7 separate regions of the Homo sapiens genome follow, and all the other regions are linked to region 3. The links are contacts of gene promoters, found by promoter capture Hi-C in human tissues and cell types (Jung and others, 2019). All regions are on one chromosome and are shown on one strand. Each heading gives the region's core, a stretch centred on a gene start or on the middle of the fragment in contact. The rest is flanking DNA. Distances are from core to core; before and after follow the strand shown.

Region 1 (2,933 bases), core at 341-2,840, 890 kb after region 3:
ATTATGGTTATTGGAAAAGTGAAGTTAACTCTCAGCAAATAAACTGGGAGTTAAAATTGGAATTCCTCCACAGGTCTCATTTTAGTAAGGCACTCAGAAACAAGTAATTTCAAAGCAGCATAGTACTGGGCTCAAGCGATCTTCCCGCCTCGGCCTCTCAAAGTGTTGGGATTACAGGCGTGAGCCACCACACCTGGCTTGAGTGTCTTTAGATTCCTCACGTAAAAGGCAGAGAGCTAGGAGTTAAGTGCAGGTGGAGAGGGTGCAGGCACCCGGCTCTTTTCGTTTGTTTTGTTTTTGAGACAGGGTCTCACTGTTGCCTAAGCTGTAGTGGCAAAATCATGGCTTACTGCAGCCTCAACATCCTGGGCTCAAGTGATTCTCCCACCTCAGCCTCCCAAGTAGCTGGGACTACAGGTGCACACCACCATACCCAGTTAATTTTTGTATTTTTTGTAGAGACAGTGTTTCATCATGTTGCTCAGGCTGGTCTCCAACTCCTGGACTCAAGCGATCTGCCCAGCTCAGCCTCCAAAGTGCTGAGATTATAGGCGTGAGTCACCGTGCCCAGCTGAGACACCTGGCTCTTACAGCTCCAGATGAACCCTTTCCTGTGTGATCACCCCACTGGCACTCCAGACTGAACAACATAGCAAGACCCTGTCAAAAAAAAAAAAAAGGGGGGGGGCCACTTGAGTGTTTCTATTTCTATTTATTTATTTAATTCTTTTATTTTTTGGAGACGGAGTCTCGCTCTGTCGCCCAGGCTGGAGTGCAGTGGCGCGATCTTGGCTCACTGCAACCTCCGCCTTCCGGGTTCAAGAAATTCTCCTGTCTCAGCCTCACAAGTAGCTGAGACTACAGGTACAGGCCGCCATGCCCGACTAATTTTTTGTATTTTAGTAGAGACAGGGTTTCACGTGTTGCCCAGGCTGGTCTCAAACTCCTAAGCTCAGGAAATCTGCCTGCCTCGACCTCCCGAAGTGCTGGGATTACAGGCGTAGGCCACCGCAGCCGGCTCACTGGGGGCGCAGTAAATGCCGATTTCCCTTGGGTATCTTCATTTCTCCTTAGAGCCGAGCTCGGTGCGCCGCGGGCAGGAGTGGGTGGGGCGACAGTAATAAGAGTAACAGCAAGCGTACACACGGCCTTCCAAGTGTGCCAGACACCGCTCTAACACTGAATCCGCACAACCCGAAAGGCAGGCCTTTTTTTTTTTTTTTTTTTTTGCTTTTTGTTTTTTAGAGACGGGAGGGTCTCCCTGTGTTGCCCAGGCTGGTCTCGATCTGTCGGCCTCAAGCGATCCTCCGGTCTGGGGCCCCCACAGTGCTGGGATTACAAGCGTGAGCCACCGCGCCCGGCCAAGGAAGTCTTAATGTACCTCTTTTCAGACAGGAAAACTAAAGTGTAGCGCGGCTAAGTAACGTAGGAAGCATCAATCATGTTTCTGGTCAAAGAAGCGAACCAAGTCAATTCTCAGGCAGAAGCAGCGGAGATTCTCCGCAGCCGGCAGCGCCCAGGGCGCCCGGAACCCAGAGAGCGAGACCGCGTGAAGGAAGTCCCGCCCCGCCCCGTCCTGCCCTGGCCTCCAGGTTTCCGCTTCCGCTCTTCCCTGGTCCAGTCCACCCTGGCGGGGTCGCAGGGTTGGGATGGCGGCTGGAGGCGATCATGGTTCGCCCGACAGCTACCGCTCACCTCTTGCCTCCCGCTATGCCAGCCCGGAGATGTGCTTCGTGTTTAGCGACAGGTATAAATTCCGGACATGGCGGCAGCTGTGGCTGTGGCTGGCGGAGGCCGAGCAGGTAACGGATCCCGGGCTGAGGGGCTGGGCCGGGAGGGACGGGCCCGCCCCAGCACGTGCCGGGCTCTGTTCCGGGCTGGGCTTAGCCACCCCGGAGCTGCGGCCCGGCTATTTTCAGCTGGGTGTTCCCTGTCCTGAGGAGCTGCGGCCCCAGGAAAGCAAGGGCAGGAGATCCGGGAGCCGCCACCTGTTGCCTCACGTGTTCTCAGTCCGAGAGGGTTCGAGACGCGGAGGAGGCTGGGAGAAATTCAGCCTGTAGTTTCAGGGAATTCATTTTGGCCATCCCCGCAGGAGTACGCTGCTAACCACAGACACCGAGCGCTTGTTTCGTACTGTTGTGCTCATTATTTCACTAATCTTTTCTTGTGTAATCCATGAAGATCTTGCAGGCTTGATGGTGTTTTTCCCACATTGCAGGGGAGAACAAAGCCCGGACAGCTTGTTGTTTGCCCTAGCCCATCCAGCTATTAAGAACGGAACTGGGATTTGAACCTGGGTGCACTCCAGAGCCTGAGCTGAGCACGTAGCCCCTTGGTTTTCCACAGTGCCTGTGTAGTTAGTGACAGGACTGGAATGCTTGTTTTCTAGGCCACCGTTTCTGCCTCACTGGCCTCCGCTTTGCCTCTTAGGAGAAGACTCCGGGTAGGGGTTTATTAAACGGGGTTTATAATTTCTTTTCTAAGGGCTGCATAGAGAACTTCTTAGCCCAGCGGTTTCAGAAATAGCTCCAGAAGAGTTGAAGCAAACTGAAGGTGATCCAGAGAGCGATAATGTTTCTCCTCAAGTTTCAGAGGAAAGTGCCACAACGAGCAAGTTGGCAATGCCCTCTCAAACGGCACAGTAAACATGGAAACAATTTGACTTCGGGCCTAGGACCTGTACCATGGAACTCTCCAAACAGGAAACTTTCATTCTAGATTCCCTCCCTCCCCTTATCACTGCCCTCCAAAATATTGGGCGATACACTACAATAATAGCAGACATTCAGATAGTGCCTTCTGAGACCCAGGTCTTAACCCTTTACACATGGTTGCTTATTAATCCTCCAAACAACCCTGAAGAGTAGGTATGAAATACTATGACTGTACCTGTTTTACAGATGGAAGAATGAAGCATCAACTTAATAAACTCT
Region 2 (2,958 bases), core at 61-2,560, 600 kb after region 3:
AGCACTGTGAGTTGCACATAGTAGGTCCTCAATAAATATTTTTTCAAATGAAGTTAAGAAAGAGAATTTAAAATAGAATTTCTAAAAAACCTCATTTTAGGCAAAGCTTGGTGGCTCATGCATGTAATGCCAGCACTTTGGGAGGCCAAGGCAGGCAGGTCACTTGAGTCCAGGAGTTCGAGACCAGCCTGGGTGACATGGTGAAACCCATCTCTACAAAAAAAAAAAAAATTAGCTGGTTGTAGTAGTGCGCGCCAGTAGTCCCAGCTACTCGGGAGGCTGATACAGGAAGGTTGCTTGAGCCCGGGAGGCAGAGGTTGCAGTGAGCTGAGATTGCACCATTAAGCTCCAGCCTGGGTGACAGAACAAGACTCCGTCTCCAAAAAAAGAAAAGAAATTATGCTTGGGCTTGACATGATGACGCTCTCACTAAACATTTGAATGCATAGACATGCTGAATGCTGTGCTAGGAGCCAGGACTACAGAGGTGGGGCGAAAGGAGATCTTTGTTCCCAAGGAATGCACAGCCAGGTGGGTGAGACAGATGTGGACACAGATGAGTGCCATTTAGTGTAATAAGTGCTGTAATAGACAGTACAAGAGGTGCTGCGGGGATGAAAAGGAAGGTCATCAACACGATGGGGAGGTTGAGAAAGCCTTCCCAGGGAAGGTGACACTCACACTAAGTTGTGGAGGAAAAGGGCATTTCCGGCAGAGAGAACAGCCTGTGTAGAGGCATGGGGGAGCGTTTTTAGTATGTGGAGAAGATGACCGGCACAGCGGTATGCTTTACAAGGCTGGCATTAGGGTACAGGGCTAATAGCTGACTTACAGTTGAACCATGATATGTCAGACTCAGCCTCTTACTCCACTGCAGTTTAGGACAGGAAATGACCTTAGAATAATGATCTGAATCTGTATGTTTGAATTCATAAAGGCATAGAGTACCATTCAGAGAAGATAATCATAAACCACAACGGCACTTGTCACTTCTAGTTAATATACTTGCTTCAGTGGTGTACCTATAACCATGCAAATGATGTTAGGTGGAATTAGAAAGTGGTGACTCATTTAAGCTTATCTGTAGGAGCAGAGAGTGTAAAGGAAGTGACTTCTAGATCACCTGAGGTGAGTGCTGATACCATCTCAAATGGATCAGACACTGAACCAGTGAAAGAGAGGAAATCAGAAAAGAGGACTACCCAGAAGGGCCTCTGGTATATGTTCTGGGAAAGACAGTTCCTACAGCTTGAAGGTCTTTACATATCTCCAAGTCTCCAAGTGGTTCACTGAGCTAACATTAATCTAATTTAATTCTCAACCAGATTTGAAAAAGGGAGATTAATTGGATAAAAATGTAGCCCATTTTCCTTCATTTACTCCTATTTGTTTTCAATGTCTCTTTCCTTTTCTGTCTCCTCCTATCCATTTTTCTCTCCCTGTTACTCTTAAGTAGTGTCTCCTTTCCCCATCCACCCCATCTCTAGCCATCTTCCATTCTATTTCCGCTAAGTTGCTTTCAGTTGCAGGATGTCCATACCTTGTTGGCTAAACTAATGTTTCTCAGCTTTGCATATTCAGAGCTTGATATTTTTCAAATGGGAAGAAGTGATTATGCTCTGGTAGTGCTGATTACACTCACAAGATGTTAATTGACTTACGGTAATGCCGATTTCTGCAAGTTCTGTGTATGTATTTGATCTACATAACAAAGGGCTAAGGAGCTAAGTGATGATAGGGAGAATGGTAGTAATGAATGCAGTTTAGTTTAAGATGTTTGGAAGAGAAAGGACAGAGAAAAATGGAAGCAGGACGAGGTTGAGAAGGCAACACCTTTAAGTAAGATAGAAAATCAGGCTGGGTGCAGTGGCTCATGCCTGTAATCCCAGCACTTTGGGAAGCCAGAGTAAGAGGATCACTTGAGGCCAGGAGTTCGAGACCAGCTTGAGCAACATAGTGAGACCCCCATCTCTACAAAAAATGTTTTAAACATCAACTGAGCATGATGGCACATGCCTGTAGTCCTAGCTACTCAAAAGGCTGAGGCAGGAGGATTGCATGAGCCCAGGAGTTGGAGGCTGCGGTGAGCTAGGATTGCATCACTACACTCCAGCCTGAGAGACAGAGTGACACCCTGTCTCAAAAAAAAAAAAAAAAAGAAAGAAAAATCTATAATCTATTAAAAGATATACAGGAAGCACCCAGCGGAGAAAGAAAAATGGAAGTTGCTTGAATAGAGATGGTAGCAGATTTGATGGGGCAAGGCCACCAGATTCCTCCCATGGGCACAGGTAGACTATATTCATTGGAAGTTCCTTGTAGTATCTCAACAGAGTAAGAAGTCGTCATGGGTTCTCATCTTGGATACCTTGAGCTCAAAATGAGTTTATGCTACTTTGTTTTGTCATGGCACCCACTAGAATGGTTTGCACATAGTAGGTGTAAACAGTCGAGATAAAGTCACAGGATTGAAAGATGATACTGATTATACCTTTAAACTTCTTACCAGGTAACACTATCTGTGGTTTATGACAAGGGAACATGTTTATTAATCCTCTTGTGAATAGTACAGTTACATTGAATTTTTTTCCTAAAGGTGTTGATTTATTAAATGTGTACATTGAAAATATGCCAGGTTTTTTTTTTTTTTTTTTGAGACAGAGTTTCGCTCTTGTTGCCCAGGCTGGAGTACAATGGCACCATCTCGGCTCGTCGCAACCTCCGCCTCCTGGGTTCAAGTGATTCTCCTGCCTCAGCCTCCCGAGTAGCTGGGATCACAGGCGTGTGCCACCACGCCCGGCTAATTTTGTATTTTTAGTAGAGACAGGATTTCTCCATGTTGGTCAGGCTGGTCTCAAACTCCTGACCTCAGGTGATCCGCAGCCTCCCAAAGTGCTGGGATTACAGGCGTGAGCCACCCTGCCTGGCCCAGAATTTTCATAATGGTGTTTTGGCATG
Region 3 (3,060 bases), core at 281-2,780:
TGTCAGGCTGGTCTTGAACTCCTGACCTTCTGATCCACCTGCCTCAACCTCCCAAAGTGCTGGGATTACAGGCATGAGCCACCATGCCCGGCCCATGGAGATGTTATAATGGAATGTGCTTAGAGTGATAGGAACTAGGAATGGATCTTACACTTTCAAATGGTTGGGAAAACATCAAAAAATGTTTCTGGACACGTGAAAATGACACGAAATTCAAATTTTTGTGTCCATAAAGTTTTATTGGAACACCGCCAGGCTCATTCTTTTACGTATTGTCTATGGTTGATTTTATGCTACGATGGCAGAGTTGAGTAGTTGGGACAGAGACCATATGGCTGGCAAAGCCTAAAAGATTTACAATCAATCTCTTAAAGCAAATGGTTTGCCCACCCTTGCTTAGAGAGAGCCTCCAGGAAGAAAAGAGCAGTGAGGGTGACGTTGAAGAAGGGGGCAAGACTAGGTCACCAGGGGCTCCCTGTGCCCCGCCCAGGCACTGAACTTAAGCTGAGGGCAAGTGGGAGCCATTGAAGGTGCAGGCAGGAGAGTGACCTGCTCAAGTGAATGTTGGAGTAGGATCACTCTGCCTCCTCAGCAAGGATGGATGAAGCTGGGCACGGAGGCACCTGGAGCAGGTAGACCAGCCCTAGGCAGCCCGGATGGTTCAGCAAAGGCCTCTGGGACTATTCTGGAGCACATTCGCTGGGATATAGAATAGGTAGCGCATCCCTGCACCTTCGACGATGGCGGCGCAGAGATGTCTGCTGCGTACCCACAATGCCTTGTGCCTCGCACCGCGGGAGGAAGTGGCTGCTCTGTAGGCCCCAGAACGGAACCACTTGAAAGGCGGGAAACACGTGGGGGACGCCTCTGAGCCCTGAGAGGAATGGCCTAGAGCAAGGCCACGAGGAGCCAGGGCACGACACGGTGGGCCCTCGGAGAACCGCTGGTGGGCAAGTGGCAGGAGAGTAGGCTCAAGAGGGTTGGCAGGGCCGACCGGGCCTAGGGTGGCCGGGTGAGGGGGGCGGGGGAGGGGAGGCCCCCCCAGTTACCCCAGGAGTGCGCAGGTGGCTTCGGGCATGTGAGGGACGGAGGGGGTCGGACGGAAGGACACAGGCCGGTGTACAGCGGTCACCCACGCCCCAAGCAGACACACAGACTCTGCAGACACCGTAACAGGCCCGGCACCGTGCACACATCACAGGCCCAGGCCTCTGCACATGGTCACAGATGCCTATGCGAAATCCCGGCCCAGGTTCACGCGGGCACAGGCGCATCCACGCACACACCGCAACACGGATCTGCACGTCCATGCACACACAGGCACAGACTCGGGCACACGGAGTCACACCGACCCGGGCACGCTGCGGAACGCACCCGTCCACGCATACACAGAACGGGACTTGCTGCCCCGCACGCACACCAGGCCCGCACTCCGAACTACCCGCATTCCCCGCACACGCCCCCGCGCAGGCCGCCCCGGGCCGTGGGCCGGCGCACGCACGGTCACAGGAGGGGCGCGCGCACACTCGCACTCACACACACTCGCTCGCACACGCACACACTCGATCCAGCACGCGCGGGCGGCGCGGGGCGGCGGCGGCCGGAGTCTGCGGTGCGAGGCGCCCCCGGCCCGGCGCGGCGGCGGAGCCCGGCTGGCGGGGGAGGGGAGGGGGTTGCGGAGGGGGCGGGGTGGGGGCCGGAGCCGCTTGAGCCGGCGGGAGCGGGCACCCCTGCGCGCCGCGCTCGGCCTCGCCTCCGCGCCCCCCGCGCGCCCGCCGCGGTCCCTCCCCCGCGCCCGTCCGCTCGCCGGGCCCCCGCCGCCGCCCCGGGGTGCAGCCGAGCGGCCGCGCCGGGTCCCCGGGACGGGGTGGAAGTGGGGGTGGGGGGAGGGGATCGGGGCCGGGCCGGGGCCGCGCTGCCTGCGATGCCGGGCGCCCGCCGCAGCCGCTGCCGCCGGAGCCCGGGATGGGGCGAGAGGCTGCGGCGGACGCCAGCATCTCCCCGCCGGGGACCCCGGGGGCCGCGGAGCCGCCGCCGCCGCTGCTGCCGCCGTTGCTGAGACCCAGCGGGCGATGGGTGAGTTGACCCCGGCGTCCTGGGGGGCGCCGCGGCCCCTCTATCCCCGCGCTGCCCGCCCTCCCGCGCTGCGCTTGGCGCCCCCCGCCCGGCTCCGCGGCCCACTCCCCGAGCGTGACCTTAGGGGGCGGGCGCGGGCGCACTGGGGCTGGGGGCCCGGAGGCCGCGGTGGGGGCGGGATGCCGGGGAAGCCGCTCGGCGCGGGCCCCCTCCCCCTACCCGCCGCTCCTCCGAGCTCCCCGGTCCCCGGAGGGCAGAGCCTCAGCGCCCGACCCCCTCCCACGGCCGGGCGGGGGACGTCCCCGAGGCGCGGGGCTCGAGCCGTGCTTTGTGCGCGGCACCCCCCAGCCTCCGGCGCGGCTCCCCCACAACCTCCGGCGCGGCGCGGGGCTGGGGTGGGAGGCCTCCGCGCCCGCCTTCCCCACCCCCGACCCCAGACTGCGGCGGCGGCAGCCGAGGCCCAAGCGCAGTCGGGGGCTGGGCGGGTGCGGGGGCTGCGGCCGTAGCTACCCCTGGGGACCAGGCAGAGGCAAATGTGGAGAGGGCCCCCGGCCATTTACCGGGGTGGGGGCCCCCGGCTCCTTGCATTGCTCTGCCCAGGGCGGGGGAGGGAACCTGGCTGAGGGAGGGCGCTATAAATATCTGCAAATAGTGAGTTCTGGAACCGGGAGTGGGGAGGGGAGTGCGCCTGGGTGTGTGTATGGTGGGGTTCCTGAGCTGGGGTGCAGCAGGAAGGGATGCCGCGCGGCCAGACCTAGTGGTCTGAGGTCGGATGACCCCCAGCCCCGGAAGATGCCCCTGAAGGCCCCTGATGGGGTGTGGGCAGACACACTACCCCAGTGGGATTCCTCCCTGGTTCCCCACTTCATTCCTGGGACACACCAGTCCAGATTCGCCTTGATGGGGGAGTTGTGAGCACTGGCGTGTCGTTTGGGGAGGGGGAGCAGTTATGAAAGATCCAGACATGGAGCCCAGCAGAAGGAT
Region 4 (3,069 bases), core at 498-2,997, 740 kb after region 3:
GAGTGCAATGGCACGATCTTAGCTCACTACAGCCTCAAACTGGAGCCAAACAATACTCCTGGGTTAGCCTCCCAAGTAGTTAGGACTACAGGTGCACACCACCACACCTGGCTAAATTTTTCTGTAGAGACGGGGCCTTGATATGTTGCCCAGGCTGGTCTCAAACTGCTGACCTCAGGCAATCCTCCTGCCTTTGCCTCCCAAGGTGCTGGGATTATAGGCATGAGCCACCATCCTCAGCTTTATTTTGTTTTGTTTTGTTTTGTTTTGTTTTTTGAGACGGAGTCTCGCTCTGTCGCCCAGGCTGGAGTGCAGTGGCGCAATATCAGCTCACTGCAAGCTCCACCTCCCAGGTTCACACCATTCTCCTGCCTCAGCCTCCCCAGCAGCTGGGACTACAGGCGCCCGCCACCACGCCCAGCTAATTTTTTTTGTTTGTTTGTATTTTTAGTAGACGGGGTTTCACCGTGTTAGCCAGTATGGTCTCAATCTCCTGACCTCGTGATCCGTCTGCCTCAGCCTCCCAAAGTCCTGGGATTACAGGTGTGAGCCACCGCGTCCAGCCTTTTTTTTTTTTCTTTTTAATACACTGCTAGGTTGGCCCATAGTGCATCATATTGTTAACACCTTTGATTTTAAAAATTGCTTACCTCTAATGGATTTTTTTCTTTTTTTGAGACAGGGTCTCAGTCTGTTGGAGTGCAATGTCACAATCTCAGCCTCAACCTACCGGGCTCAAGCAGTCCTTCCATCTCAGCTACCAGAGTAGCTGGGGCTACAGGCTCCACCACCATGCCTGGCTAATTTTTTTGTAGAGGTGGGGCTTTCTAATGGATTTTTAATAATGTGATCTTCTTCTATCACATGTTAAATCCTAATAGTTACTGGTACTTAATAGATCTAGAGGTAAAAACCAGATAACCCACCACTGAATAAATGAGTGCCTCAGTGGTCCAGGACCCTAAAACTGGGCCTCGTTGGAGTCTCTAGGACTTGTTGGCACCTTTATTTGGAAGTCAGGGTAGAAAAAACAGCTTATTTGTTCATTTCTTTCTCCTAGAATATTTCTATTCTCCTGAGGCAGGGATGAGTTGGTTGCTCATTTTTAGATTATGGAACTCTTGCTGATGTTTTTTTCTGGAACTCTTGCTGATGTTTTTTTCTGGTTTCCCTTTGTTTGGGTCGGGGCAGTGATAGGGCAGATGTGGTTCAGGCTCGCAGTTATGACCTGTACTCTGCAGTAGCTTCTCTCTGAGGTTCTGTGTAACCAAATTTTAAAACATTGCTCTGAGTCATGCTGAGTTTTTCCATAAGGCTCTGGTCGGGGGGAAGGGACATGAACTGATTCATTAAGTGCCTATTATGCTGCACACACTTCCATTACCTCATTTAGTCCTCCCAACAACCTGATGTGGAGGATGGTTTTATCTTCATAAGAAAAAAGGAGTGCTGACAGCTCAGTGACCAGGCTGCAGCCATGTACACATGAGGAGGTGGAGGAACTGGGTGCTGTAACTCCACCAAAATTTTCTTCTCTTCCCAAGCTGCCTTAAACACAGTGCAGAGTGATTTGCTAATTGATTGGTTGAATCCCTGTATTATAAAGTGGAGTGTCTTAAAATATGGATGCAGATGACGGGAACAGCTTGCTGGCTTTATGGTGTCCTCAGCACTGCATTCATGATAAACAACAGGAGAATGAGACTGTGCTGATCGTGTGCAGAATAGGAGGTCTTTGGGAGCATCCCTGGCTGGCTGCTGAAAGGTGTTTTTCTTGTTTTTTTTTGAGACAGAGTCTCACACTGTTGCCCCTCGCTGGAGCGCAGCACATGGCTTGATCTCAGCTCACTGCAACCTCCACCTCCCGGGTTCAAGCGATTCTCCTGCTTTTCAGCCTCCCAAGTAGCTGGGATTACAGGTGCCTGCTACCACACCCAGGCTGATTTTTTGTATTTTTAGTAGAGACGGGGTTTCACTATGTTGGCCAGGCTGTTCTCAAACTCCTGACCTCATGATCTACCCCCCTCGGCCTCCCAAAGTGCTGAGATTACAAGCATGAGCCACCGCACCCAGCCGAAAGGCGTTTTTCTTTTTCTTTTTTTTTTTTTTTGAGACAAGTCTTGTTCTGTTGCCCAGGTTGGAGTGCAGTGGTGCGATTCATAGTTCAGTGCAGCCTCGACCTTCTGGGCTCAAGCTGAGATCCTCCTGTCTCAGCCACGCAAGTAATTGGGACTACAGGCATGAGCCACCGTGCCTGGCTAATTAAAAAAAACTTCTTTTAACAGAGACAGGGTCTCCCTGTGCTGCTCAGGCTGGTCTTGAACTCCTGGGCTCAAGTGATTCTCCCACCTCAGCCTCCCAAAGCGCTGGGATTACAAACATGAGCCACCATGCCTGGCCCATTTTTTCTTTTTAAGCAACATGACAGATTAACTAAAAAAGAAAAATCACTGAATGGTTAAAAAGTTTACTTCAGGTGATTAATTGAAAAACCAATTGATTAATAAAGACATTTTTAAAGGATCTAAACTGTATTGAGTTTAAGTTGTAATTCTTAAAGCATAATCAGAAGGCTTATCAAAGCTATAACGAAGAAAATAGAAGTCATTTGTAATTAGACAATAATTAAAGGCAAGTACATGCCCAGTGATTTTAAAGTGCTTGAAAACAATTAGTTTTCTTAAGTAGGTTAAATATCTGGGTTACAAGCTTGTTTACACTATTAATTTACTTAGCAAACCTGTTCTTCATAGATGATGCAAAGTTGAATTTTAGTTTGGCCGTCTGAATTATTACAAGTTCTAACTTAACAGATATTCTTTAAAAAATACATTTTTACATTAATTCTTTTTAATTTTAAAAGCATTCTTCTTTTCTCTCTCTTTTCCTTCCTGAACAGTTCAGTCCTAGAGGCTATTAAGTGGGCTCAGCAAGGTGTTGGCCTGGCCAGGGGTATCAGAGCCTGAGTAGGATGAGGAGGGAGGGTCTGGTGTGCTGTGTCAGAGCCCAGGAGAGGTGAGAAGGGCATCCATTGCTTCTGGGATGCCCTTCCTGTATTGATTGGTTGAA
Region 5 (3,210 bases), core at 709-3,208, 580 kb before region 3:
GGCTTCTCAGAGGTGGAGACCTCTGATTTGGGGCCGGAAAGACAAATGGGAATTGGCCTACAAGTGAAGAATGGGAAGGGTGTCCCGGGTGGAGGTGTCAACTTGAACAAGCACATCAGAGCCTGAGAGTGTGTTTTGGGGATGGGAAAGAAGTCTGCTATGGCATGGGTTGGGGCAGTACGGCAAAGGATGGCAATGGAAAGATGGGTTGGACTGAACTTGGGAAGGGCCTTGAATGCTGGGTAGGTTTGGACTTTGTCTCAGGCAGTGGGAAGCGTGAGGGAGTTTTGAGTAGAGGAGGGATGTGATGAGATGAAGTGGGAATTCGGGCAGCCAGGCTTGGATCCCTTTTCTTTTGGTAATCGTGTGATGTTGTACAAGTCCTTTTCTACTCTCTGGATCTTAGTTTTTCAACTTCAAAAATGGGGGAGGAACTGGCCCTTTTTCATGCTCTATATTTTTTGGCAGGTGACTTTTTTTTTTTTTTTTTTTGAGGTGGAGTCTCCCTTTGTTGCCCAGGCTGGAGTGCAGTGGCGTGATCTTGGCTCACTACAACCTCCGCCTCCCAGGTTCAAGTGATTCTCCTGCCTTGGCCTCCTGAGTAGCTGGGACTATAGGCGCGCCACCTTGCCAGGCTAATTTTTGTATTTTTAGTAGAGACGGGGTTTCACTATGTTGGCCAGGCTGGTCTCAAACTCCTGACCTCGTGATCCGCCCGCCTTGGCCTCTCAAAGTGCTGGGATTACAGGCGTGAGCCACTGCGACAAGCTGCAGGTGACTCTTTTGAAAATCTGTTATTTCCAAGTCATTCCAAAATTTTGGAGAGATTTATGGACTTCTCACATGCTTTTCCCTTGTTTATGAGCACCTGGAGAAGATAGTCTCTATTCTATGAGAAAAAAATCCCCTCCACCTCTGACAGTCTATAGTTCTGAGGTTTGGTGTAACATCACAAAGGAAAAAAATTGATCTCTTAGCCTGTGTGAGTTGTTGCCCAGACAGAGGGCAAATCAGTTTCCTATGAAATTGTGAACCAAAACTATCTGAGACAAGTCTCAATCAATGTAGAAAGTTTATTTTGCCAAGGTTAAGGACGTGCCCGTGACATAGCCTCAGGAGGTCCTGATGACTTGTACCCAAAGTGATAGGGGTATAGCTTGGTTTTATACATTTTAGGGAGATATGAGACATCAATCAGTACATTTAAGATGTACATTGGTTCAGTCTGGAAAGGTGGGGCAACTCGAAGTGGGGGCTTCCAGGTGGTAGGTAGATAAGAGACAAAAGGTTGTATTATTTTGATTCTGATCAGCCTTTCACTGAGTACACAATTTACATGTGAGGAGGGTAGAGGAAGAGTCACTTATGCCTCAGTCTGTCTCAGTGAATCTGCATTTTTACATAAGCAACAGGCGGAGGAAGCAATCAGATATGCATTTGTCTCGGGTGGGAAGAGGGATGACTTTGAGTTCTGTCCTTGTCCCGCATCTGTTAAGATAAACTATCAATTTACATTGCCAAGGTGAAATTCAACAGAACTGTTTTAGGGTAAAGATGCTGAGGCCCACATGGAAATTCCTTGGGGGCAAACTCTGAAGGAGATATGTAGTTTTTTAATCTTTGTAACTATCTTATTTGGGGAAAAAATGGGAGCCAAGTTTGCCTGATGCAGTCCCCAGCTTGACTTAGTGATTTTTTGGGTTCAAATTTCAACCCCAAAAAAGGCAACAACTGTCTTTCTTTTTTTTTTCTTTTCTTTTTTTGAAATGGAGTCTCGCTCTGTCGCCCCGGCTGGAGTGCAGTGGCGCGATCTCGGCTCACTGCAAGCTCTGTCTCCTGGGTTCATGCCATTCTCCTGCCTCAGCCTCCCGAGTAGCTGGGACTACAGGTGCCCACCACCACACTCGGCTAATTTTTTGTATTTTTAGTAGAGACGGGGTTTCACTGTGTTAGCCAGGATGGTCTCGATCTTCTGACCTCGTGATCTGCCCGCCTCGGCCTCCCAAAGTGCTGGGATTACAGATGTGAGCCACCGCACCCGGCCAACAACTTTCTTTTTGGCTTAGTGATTTGGGGGTCCTGAGACTTACCTTCCTTTCACCAAAAAAACCTGTAGTACAGCAAACAAAAATTTAGTAGCTTAAAACACAAGAATCTATTATCTCTCATGATTCTGTGTTTGACGGGCACTTTGGATGGTTCTCTTTCCTGCTCTTGTATAGGGTAACTGGTGTGGCCACGGTCAGAGACAAGGCCAAGGCTTGATGTGTACATCTGGAGTCATAGTACTGGATGCTGGCTGGGCCTCTCTCTCCTCGTGGTCTCTCATCATTCATAGTCTACTTCAAGCTTGCTTATGTGGTTCCAGGAGTCACACAAGAAGGTGAGAGACACACAAAGCTTCTTAAGGTCTTGCCTTGGAACTTACACAACATTGCTCCCTCTGCATTCTGTTGGTCAAAGCAAGTCACAAGGTATGGTGAGCAGATTTCAAGGCCACTAAGGTTCCTGCCTCCCCCAACCCAGTGTACATGTCCTGTATAATCCCCTCCCTTTGAGCATGAGAGGGACCTAAGGAACGTGTTGGGATTTTGCTCCCATGATTAGGTTATATTGAAAAAACAGGCCGGGTGTGGTGGTTCCTGCCTGTAATTCCAGCACTTTGGGAGGCCGAGGTGGGTAGATCACCTGAGGTCGGGAGTTTGAGACCAGCCTGGCCGATATGATGAAACCCCATCTCTACTAAAAATACAAAAATTAACTGGGCGTGGTAGTGGACACCTGTAATCCCAGCTACTGGGGAAGCTGAGGCAGGAGAATCACTTGAACCTGGGAGACGGAGGTTGCAGTGAGCCAAGATTGTGCCACTGCACTCCAGCCTGGGCAACAGAGCAACACTCTGTCTCAAAAACAAACAAACAAGGTTTTGTAGACATAATTAAGGTCCTTTAAGTTGACTTTGACTTATTCAAAAGGGAGTTTATCTTGGTCTGACCTAATCAGGCGAGCTCTTTGAAAGACAATCCAAGCCTCTCCCAAGAGGAAAGGTTGGAAGCAGTGGAATTGCGCTCCTGTTGACCTTGAAGAGGCAAGATGCCATGTTGTGGAGAGGGCCATGTGGCAGGAACGGTGGTGGGTGGTTTCCAGGAGCTGAGGACCTCAGTCCTACAATCACAAGGATCTGAATTCTGTGACTAGCCACTGAGCTTG
Region 6 (3,260 bases), core at 357-2,856, 850 kb after region 3:
GAGGCTGGTGAAATGCCCACGTGGAGCTCTCTGCCTGCCATCCCTAAGCATTATCATTTGGTTTCATGGCATGAAGTCAAAAATGATTTATTGAAATTGTAAAATCTGTTTGTGGACTGAATAATCTAAGCCCACTGATATCTACAGCTTTGGGCACTTTCAATGCTTCCTTAGGCTGATGATTCACCAGGTCCCCTTGTCCCCAAAGACATGATAGGTGCATGATAATAAATCTGAAATGGCATGTGAGAGGATATCTCAAAGGCAAAATCTCTACTTGCCTTTTTAGAGCTTATAGATCATGTTTTCCCATTTCCTTAGCAATCCCCAAAGTAATTGAGCTTGTCATTTTCCACTGCTTCACCATAATGTGCCTCTGAGCCAGATTTGTCAGTGGCTCCAGAAAAGTAAATGCCCTCTTAGCCTGAGTATGGAGGTAGTTTTGATAATATTCCCATTAGGCTGCATCACCCTGGAAATAATTTTATCCCTTCACAAGCAGCATCCTAAGAATAGATCAAGTGACCCAATATAGTATGTAAAATTCATTTGAGAAATAAGTAGACTGGTATCTCACTGATACCTAAAATTTTATTCAAAGTGCATGTTCTGTTAGTTCAAGGTAATTTTAAGCTTTTAATTATTTTCCTGCCCCATAGCATATAAAATGCATGATGGGGGCAGCGACAAAACCACTGAAGTGCTCTCAGGAAACCAGTTACAAAGGATTTGCTGTTCTTCATGTGTGAGGCCACGGATCCCAGAGCTGCAGAGTTCATTGCTGGTCTTGTGCTGGCAAAGACCCTAGGCGGGAATTCCATCTCATTGCGTTGGAATTTAAAGCAATTGCAGATGCTTTTCCCTCCAATGGACTCTCTGTTTACACTGCTGCTTCCAGCTAATCTAAGCCTGATCAGCCAGCCCTTAAGAACCTGGGTGGATAGCATCAGTAGAAATTTAGTTAAAACCTTCTTATGTGCTACAAATGGTTAGAATTTTCCCCATTTCTCACTCTTGAGTCGTTAGCATAGAAACTAGGGATAATGGTCAGATTCCTAGTATGTGAACGTTTCATTAATTTCATAAGACCATGGAATTTTAAAACTGAAAGGAACATTCAAGCATGAGAACAATCCTGTGTGCCTAAGTGAGGAACTGAGAGGCTCAGAGAGGCGAAATGACTTGTTGTTGGTCATGCTGCTTAGTAATTCTGTGCTGAGTCTCGAATGCAACCTCTTATTCCAGTGCTGTTTGTATATACTCCATCAGCTTCAGAAGACTGTTTGCATTCCAGCGAATAAAAAATAGACAAGTTCTATTCATAGGAGTTATTCTGGATGATTTAATTTCCTCTCTTTTCTCAGGCGCTATAGTGGCCCCTGGTAAAACCCGGGGAGGGTCACCGTACAACCAGTTTGATATCATCCCTGGTGACACACTGGGTGGCCATACGGGTCCTGCTGGTGATAGCTGGTTACCTGCCAAATCTCCACCAACAAATAAAATCGGAAGTAAATCCAGCAATGCCAGTTGGCCTCCAGGTATTGTCTAGGAAATGCTTTTCCCAGGATAGCATTTGTTTTGTAATTGTCAGTTTCAGGTTCAGAATACATTGCTTTTGTGATTCATGTTACTAAGGTACTTGCTTTTATTTTTTTCATTCAATAATTGTCTGTTAGAAGCAAGGCATGTGCTGTGGGAAGATAGAAAATTTTCATTAGATGGGGAATCTGGGGATAAGTGACATTGTAGGTGGGACTTTGCATTCGTCCCATGCATAGGATGCCTTGTAACATGGGTTCTTTTGAAGTGTCTGTTGAATTGATTTGTTAGTTCTTAGGCAAGTGTGTATTACCAGTTAGCTTCTAGGTATGCAGTAGCGATTGCAATGAGATTATTTGTTAATTCTTTTCTTTCTGTCCCTCCCTTTTGTTGGATATAGTAATCTATTCTCATGATAGAAAAATGAGAACATTTAATAAAGCAAAAATTAAAATCAGTAATTCCATAAATATATATCCTCCTAGACCTCTTTCTGTGCATGCGTATTTGTGACATGAATATGTATAGTTTCGTTTTATTAAGGTAGAATTTTTTTTTTTTTTTGAAAGGGAGTTTTGCTCTTATTACCCAGGCTGGAGTGCAGTGGTGCGATCTTGGTTCACTGCAAGCTCTGCCTCCCAGGTTCAAGCGATTCTCCTGCCTCAGCCTCCCAAGTACCTGGGATTACAGGCGCCTGCTACCACGCCTGGCTAATTTTTTGTATGTTTAGTAGAGACAGGGTTTCGCCATGTTGGACAGGCTGTTCTCAAACTCCTGACCTCAGGTGATCTGCCCGCCTCGGCCTCCCAAAGTGCCGGGATTACAGGCGTGAGCCACCACGCCCGGCCAAAGTAGAACTGTATAATGCAGATCGTTCATATATAATACACATTGCTCTTTCTCATCACGATTTGGAAAATAAAAGTTTATTGTGTCACATAGCCTTAAAATTTTAAAATGATTTAAATTGACCAATAAAAAAATTCCGAGCCCTTATGTATATTCTAGGCTTTCTTTTGCTAAGCTAAATTATCCCTGCTGGTTATCCCTGGACATTCTGTGTAGCAGTATCATTTGTATTACATTTTTTGCATTTTGGCCAACATCTCGTAAGGAAAATGAGAAAGAGCACTGATCTCTAGCCCATATTTTCACCGGTTCTTGGCCTAGATGCTGGGATGATTCTTGTGAACACCAGAGTCCTTACTCCTGCTTTCCCTGCCTTCAGCCCTGAAGTCTCCTGGGAGCAGGAGGATCAGGTTACTGGGGACAGGCTCTGATGAGCTGTGGCTTCCAGTTGACTGCCACAGACAGTGTGATAAAACAAAGGTGCTGTTGGCAAGAGTATGTTCATGGTGATTTTTTTTTCCTTAATTTTGTGATGAAAATCTAAGAGACAATAAATTCAGTATTTATACTTTTCACAGACCCATTTCTTATGTCAAAAAAAGTACTATATCATTTTTTTTTAACGACCTTCCTTCTCTAATATTTGTTTTCCTTGTCTCAGAATTCCAACCAGGAGTGCCATGGAAAGGTATCCAAAACATTGACCCTGAATCTGACCCCTATGTCACCCCAGGAAGTGTGCTGGGGGGTACAGCCACATCTCCCATTGTAGATACTGACCACCAACTGCTGCGGGATAACACCACAGGTACTTGAGCAAAGCATCTCTTATATGTTCAACACCCAGCATTTTCATAGTTGTCAGTTTG
Region 7 (3,230 bases), core at 15-2,514, 720 kb after region 3:
ACACCATGGCCAGCCTTGCTTTTATATTTATTCATTTTTGGGGTTTATTAACTCTTTTTCTAGATTTTTGAACATATATATATATATATATATTTTTTTTTTTTTTTTTTTTTTTTTTTTGAGACAGAATCTCATTCTGTTGTCCAGGCTGGGGTGCAGTGGCATGATCTTAGCTCACTGCAACCACCATCTCCCAGGTTCAAGTAATTGTCCTGCCTTAGCCTCCCAAGTAGCTGGGATTACCAGCAGGTACCACCATGCCCAGCTAAATTTTGTATTTTGAGTTGGGTTTTCACCATGTTGGCCAGGCTGGTCTTGAACTCCTGACCTCAGGTGATCTGCCTGGCTCAGTCTCCCAGAGTGCTGTGATTACAGGCGTGAGCCACCACGCCCAGCCTTTTTCTAGATTTTTGAGTTAAATACTCAGTTCAGTTATTTTTCAATCTTGTTTTCTTCTTTTTCTTTTTCTTTTTTTTTTTAGAGACAGAGTTTTGCTCTATTGCCCCAGCTGGAGGGTAGTGGCACGACCTTGCTCACTGCAGCTCACTGCAACCTGCAGCCTCCACCTTCTGGCTTCAAGTGATTCTTGAGCCTCAGCCTGCTGAGTAGTTGGGACTACAGGCGTGTGCCACCATGCCCAGCTAATTTTTGTTATTTTTAGTAGAAACGGGATTTTGCCATGTTGGCCAAGCTGGTCTCGAACTCCTGGCCTCAAGTGATCCACCCACCTCGGCGTCCCAAAGTGCTGGGATTACAGGTATAAGCCACCATGCCTGGCCAATCATGTTTTCTGATAAAAATATTTTGAGGAATGGTATGTAACCTCCAAAGGTGCCAGCTTTGAAAGATAACAGTCATTTGAATGTTCTTGTTTTTAGTTTTAGAAAATAATTTTTATGGCTGAGGCCGGCAGATCACGAGGTGATCACGAGGTGATTTAGTGAAACCCCGTCTCTACTACAAATACAAAAAAATTAGCCGAGCGTGGTGGCAGGCACCTATAGTCCCAGCTATTCGGGAGGCTGAGGCAGGAGAATGGCGTGAACCCGGGAGGCGGAGCTTGCAGTAAGCCGAGATAGCACCACTGCACTCTAGCCTGGGCGACAAAGCGAGACTCCATCTCAAAAAAAAAAAAAAAAATTTATTTCTTTGTGTCCTTACCTTACAATAATATAATTTTAAAATATTGTCTAATTGTTAATATGAAAAAAGTATAATAAATCTATCACAGAATCTATTATGTCTGGAAACACAAGGGAGAAATAATGTATTTATTGCACTTGTTTGTTTTAGATAAACGATTAGACTAATTGTATTAAATTTAGAGGTATTGCATAGAAAAGATGATGTGGAGGTTAAGGAAAAAATATTCAGTGGCCGGGCGCAGTGCCTCATGCCTGTAATCTCAGCACTTTGGGAGGCTGACGTGGGCAGATCACGAGGTCAGGAGTTCGAGACCAGCCTGGCCAACATGGTGAAACCCTGTCTCTATTAAAAATACAAAAATTATCTGGGCATGGTGGCATGTGTCTGTAATCCCAGCTACTCAGGAGGCTGAGACAGGAGAATCGCTTGAACCCAGGAGGTGGAGGTTCCTGTGAGCCGATACCATGCCACTGCACTCCAGCCTGGGTGACAGAGCAAGACTCTGTCTCAAAATATATATATATATGTTTTCAGCATATTATTTGAAATTAGAACCAATATTTTATTTAAAATATGTTTGTTCTGTTTCCAAACTTTTCATGCAGTTTGCTATTTAACACTTACAAGGCAACACATATAAATATTTGTATACAATAATATTCTACACTGGGGAATGGAGACTTAGCAAAGTTCAGTTTCATAAAGAAAGCATGTCCATCACAAATTAAAACAAGGTGGATGTTCAGTCTCCACACATTTTTACAAATCGAGCCAGCTACAAGCAAGTAGGCTTTCAGTAACTCATCTGGAAGGTATTGGAAGGATAAAAATAGACTAAATAATCAGAATTTCCATTCTAGTAGTTTCCTGCTTTTTCCTGCATCTCAATTGTCAGTGCAGGGCCTGGCTATTTCACTCAGTGCTAGGCAAAGACAGTGGAAGCTTGTTAAGCCACAGCTATTCAGGCTACCAGATTGTCCAGGCATTGGCCTTTGCCTGCCATGAAACAGCTCCTTTCCTGTCGTCATATCTGAGTGGAAAGAGCAAAGGCGGGAGACTGTATAAAGACCCAGAAGCCAGGATGACAACAAGTGTTGTGGGATTTTACAAGCATTCGTAGGTTCCTTTTCAAGGAAAGCCGGGTTTCTAGAATCCATCAGTTGTCTGCTGGCTGGCATGGCAGCCTAGTTTATGGGAGAAGCACACTAGGGAATCCTCCCTTTTCTGGCTTATAGAGATAGGTGGAGTCGATAGTCACAGGGCATTCTCATGCACTTTTTTTTTTTTTTTTTTTGAGATGGAGTTTCACTCTTGCTGCCCAGTCTGGAGTGCAATGGCGCGATCTCGGCTCACCACAACCTCCGCCTCCCGGGTTCAAGCGATTCTCCTGCTAAGCTCAGCCTCCCTAGTAGCTGGGATTACAGGCATGTGCCACCACGCTGGCTAATTTTGTATTTTTAGTAGAGACGGGGTTTCTCCATGCTGGTCAGGCTGGTCTCGAACTCCCGACCTCAGGTGATCTGCCTGCCTCGGCCTCCCAAAGTGCTGGGATTACAGGTATGAGCCACCGCACCCGGCCTCATGCGCTTTTTACCATTTTAGTTACTTTCTTTCCTGAAGCCGTCCTTAAAACATAGATGAATGCGAGTTTCTGGGAACTATGTGACCCTCATTCCCCTACATTTTTTATATTCAGGTGGCAGATTTCCTCCTACTCAGCCCAGCCCTTCTGAATAGGGTCCAAGTCATTGATTTATTCATTTATTTACCTCCTATGTGGTGTTTGGTGTGGAGCCTCACAGAGCAGTGAAGACGTGGTGTTTTTCCTTATACAGTTTACAGTCTCCTGGGGAAGACTAATGTTAAGCACATTCTTTCATAAATTGCAATTATGACCATTGCTCTGAAGAAGTAGTAAAGGATATTATGGGAGTGTTAACAGGAGGGCCTGGTCTGGACTGCGAGGGTCAAGAAGCCTTCCCAGGGTGGAGGCGAACTTTTGAGATGGCCAGGAAAAGATGAACAGAACTACTCAAAGAAGCCAAGTGCAGAGTTTCAGAGGTGAAAGAAACCAAAGATACCAT

What was found. The method cuts DNA at HindIII sites, captures the fragments that hold promoters and counts their contacts. A contact is called where the count stands out against the background at its distance.
Region 1: the fragment with the promoter of ADSL here is called in contact with the fragment with the promoter of MGAT3 in region 3 in 5 of the 25 tissues and cell types used here (IMR-90 fibroblasts, dorsolateral prefrontal cortex, lymphoblastoid cells and 2 more).
Region 2: a contact is called between a fragment that was not itself captured here and the fragment with the promoter of MGAT3 in region 3, in 4 of the 25 tissues and cell types used here (dorsolateral prefrontal cortex, liver, lymphoblastoid cells and 1 more).
Region 4: a contact is called between a fragment that was not itself captured here and the fragment with the promoter of MGAT3 in region 3, in 1 of the 25 tissues and cell types used here (lymphoblastoid cells).
Region 5: a fragment that was not itself captured here is called in contact with the fragment with the promoter of MGAT3 in region 3 in 1 of the 25 tissues and cell types used here (spleen).
Region 6: a contact is called between a fragment that was not itself captured here and the fragment with the promoter of MGAT3 in region 3, in 3 of the 25 tissues and cell types used here (dorsolateral prefrontal cortex, lymphoblastoid cells and mesenchymal stem cells).
Region 7: a contact is called between a fragment that was not itself captured here and the fragment with the promoter of MGAT3 in region 3, in 1 of the 25 tissues and cell types used here (dorsolateral prefrontal cortex).

What each region holds. Positions count from the first base shown.
Region 1 is chr22:40,344,910-40,347,842 of GRCh38, forward strand. It overlaps ADSL (adenylosuccinate lyase), which reads left to right and starts at 1,591. Exons shown (of 13, transcript NM_000026.4): 1 at 1,591-1,802. The coding sequence starts at 1,650. RefSeq lists enhancers at 1,106-1,619, 1,620-2,133, 2,134-2,646 and a silencer at 1,844-1,933. The HindIII fragment of the contact is 18,864 bases long and covers 1-2,933 here.
Region 2 is chr22:40,054,657-40,057,614 of GRCh38, forward strand. It overlaps a transcript of TNRC6B not described here. Among named protein-coding and RNA genes, the nearest start is that of TNRC6B-DT, 12 kb to the left of the region's middle. The HindIII fragment of the contact is 4,520 bases long and covers 1-2,958 here.
Region 3 is chr22:39,455,482-39,458,541 of GRCh38, forward strand. MGAT3 (beta-1,4-mannosyl-glycoprotein 4-beta-N-acetylglucosaminyltransferase) reads left to right here and starts at 1,531. Exons shown (of 2, transcript NM_002409.5): 1 at 1,531-2,076. RefSeq lists silencers at 1,457-1,516, 2,247-2,516, 2,527-2,656 and an enhancer at 2,977-3,060. The HindIII fragment of the contact is 12,980 bases long and covers 1-3,060 here.
Region 4 is chr22:40,195,512-40,198,580 of GRCh38, forward strand. All of the region lies in intron 1 of TNRC6B (trinucleotide repeat containing adaptor 6B), which reads left to right. Among named protein-coding and RNA genes, the nearest start is that of TNRC6B, 19 kb to the left of the region's middle. RefSeq lists enhancers at 1-305, 306-838. The HindIII fragment of the contact is 3,393 bases long and covers 52-3,069 here.
Region 5 is chr22:38,875,044-38,878,253 of GRCh38, forward strand. No RefSeq gene overlaps it. Among named protein-coding and RNA genes, the nearest start is that of CBX6, 4.4 kb to the left of the region's middle. The HindIII fragment of the contact is 3,463 bases long and covers 228-3,210 here.
Region 6 is chr22:40,309,453-40,312,712 of GRCh38, forward strand. It overlaps TNRC6B (trinucleotide repeat containing adaptor 6B), which reads left to right. Exons shown (of 23, transcript NM_001162501.2): 17 at 1,365-1,541; 18 at 3,053-3,199. Among named protein-coding and RNA genes, the nearest start is that of ADSL, 35 kb to the right of the region's middle. The HindIII fragment of the contact is 7,129 bases long and covers 1-3,260 here.
Region 7 is chr22:40,173,702-40,176,931 of GRCh38, forward strand. It overlaps a transcript of TNRC6B not described here. Among named protein-coding and RNA genes, the nearest start is that of TNRC6B, 2.6 kb to the right of the region's middle. The HindIII fragment of the contact is 5,621 bases long and covers 1-3,230 here.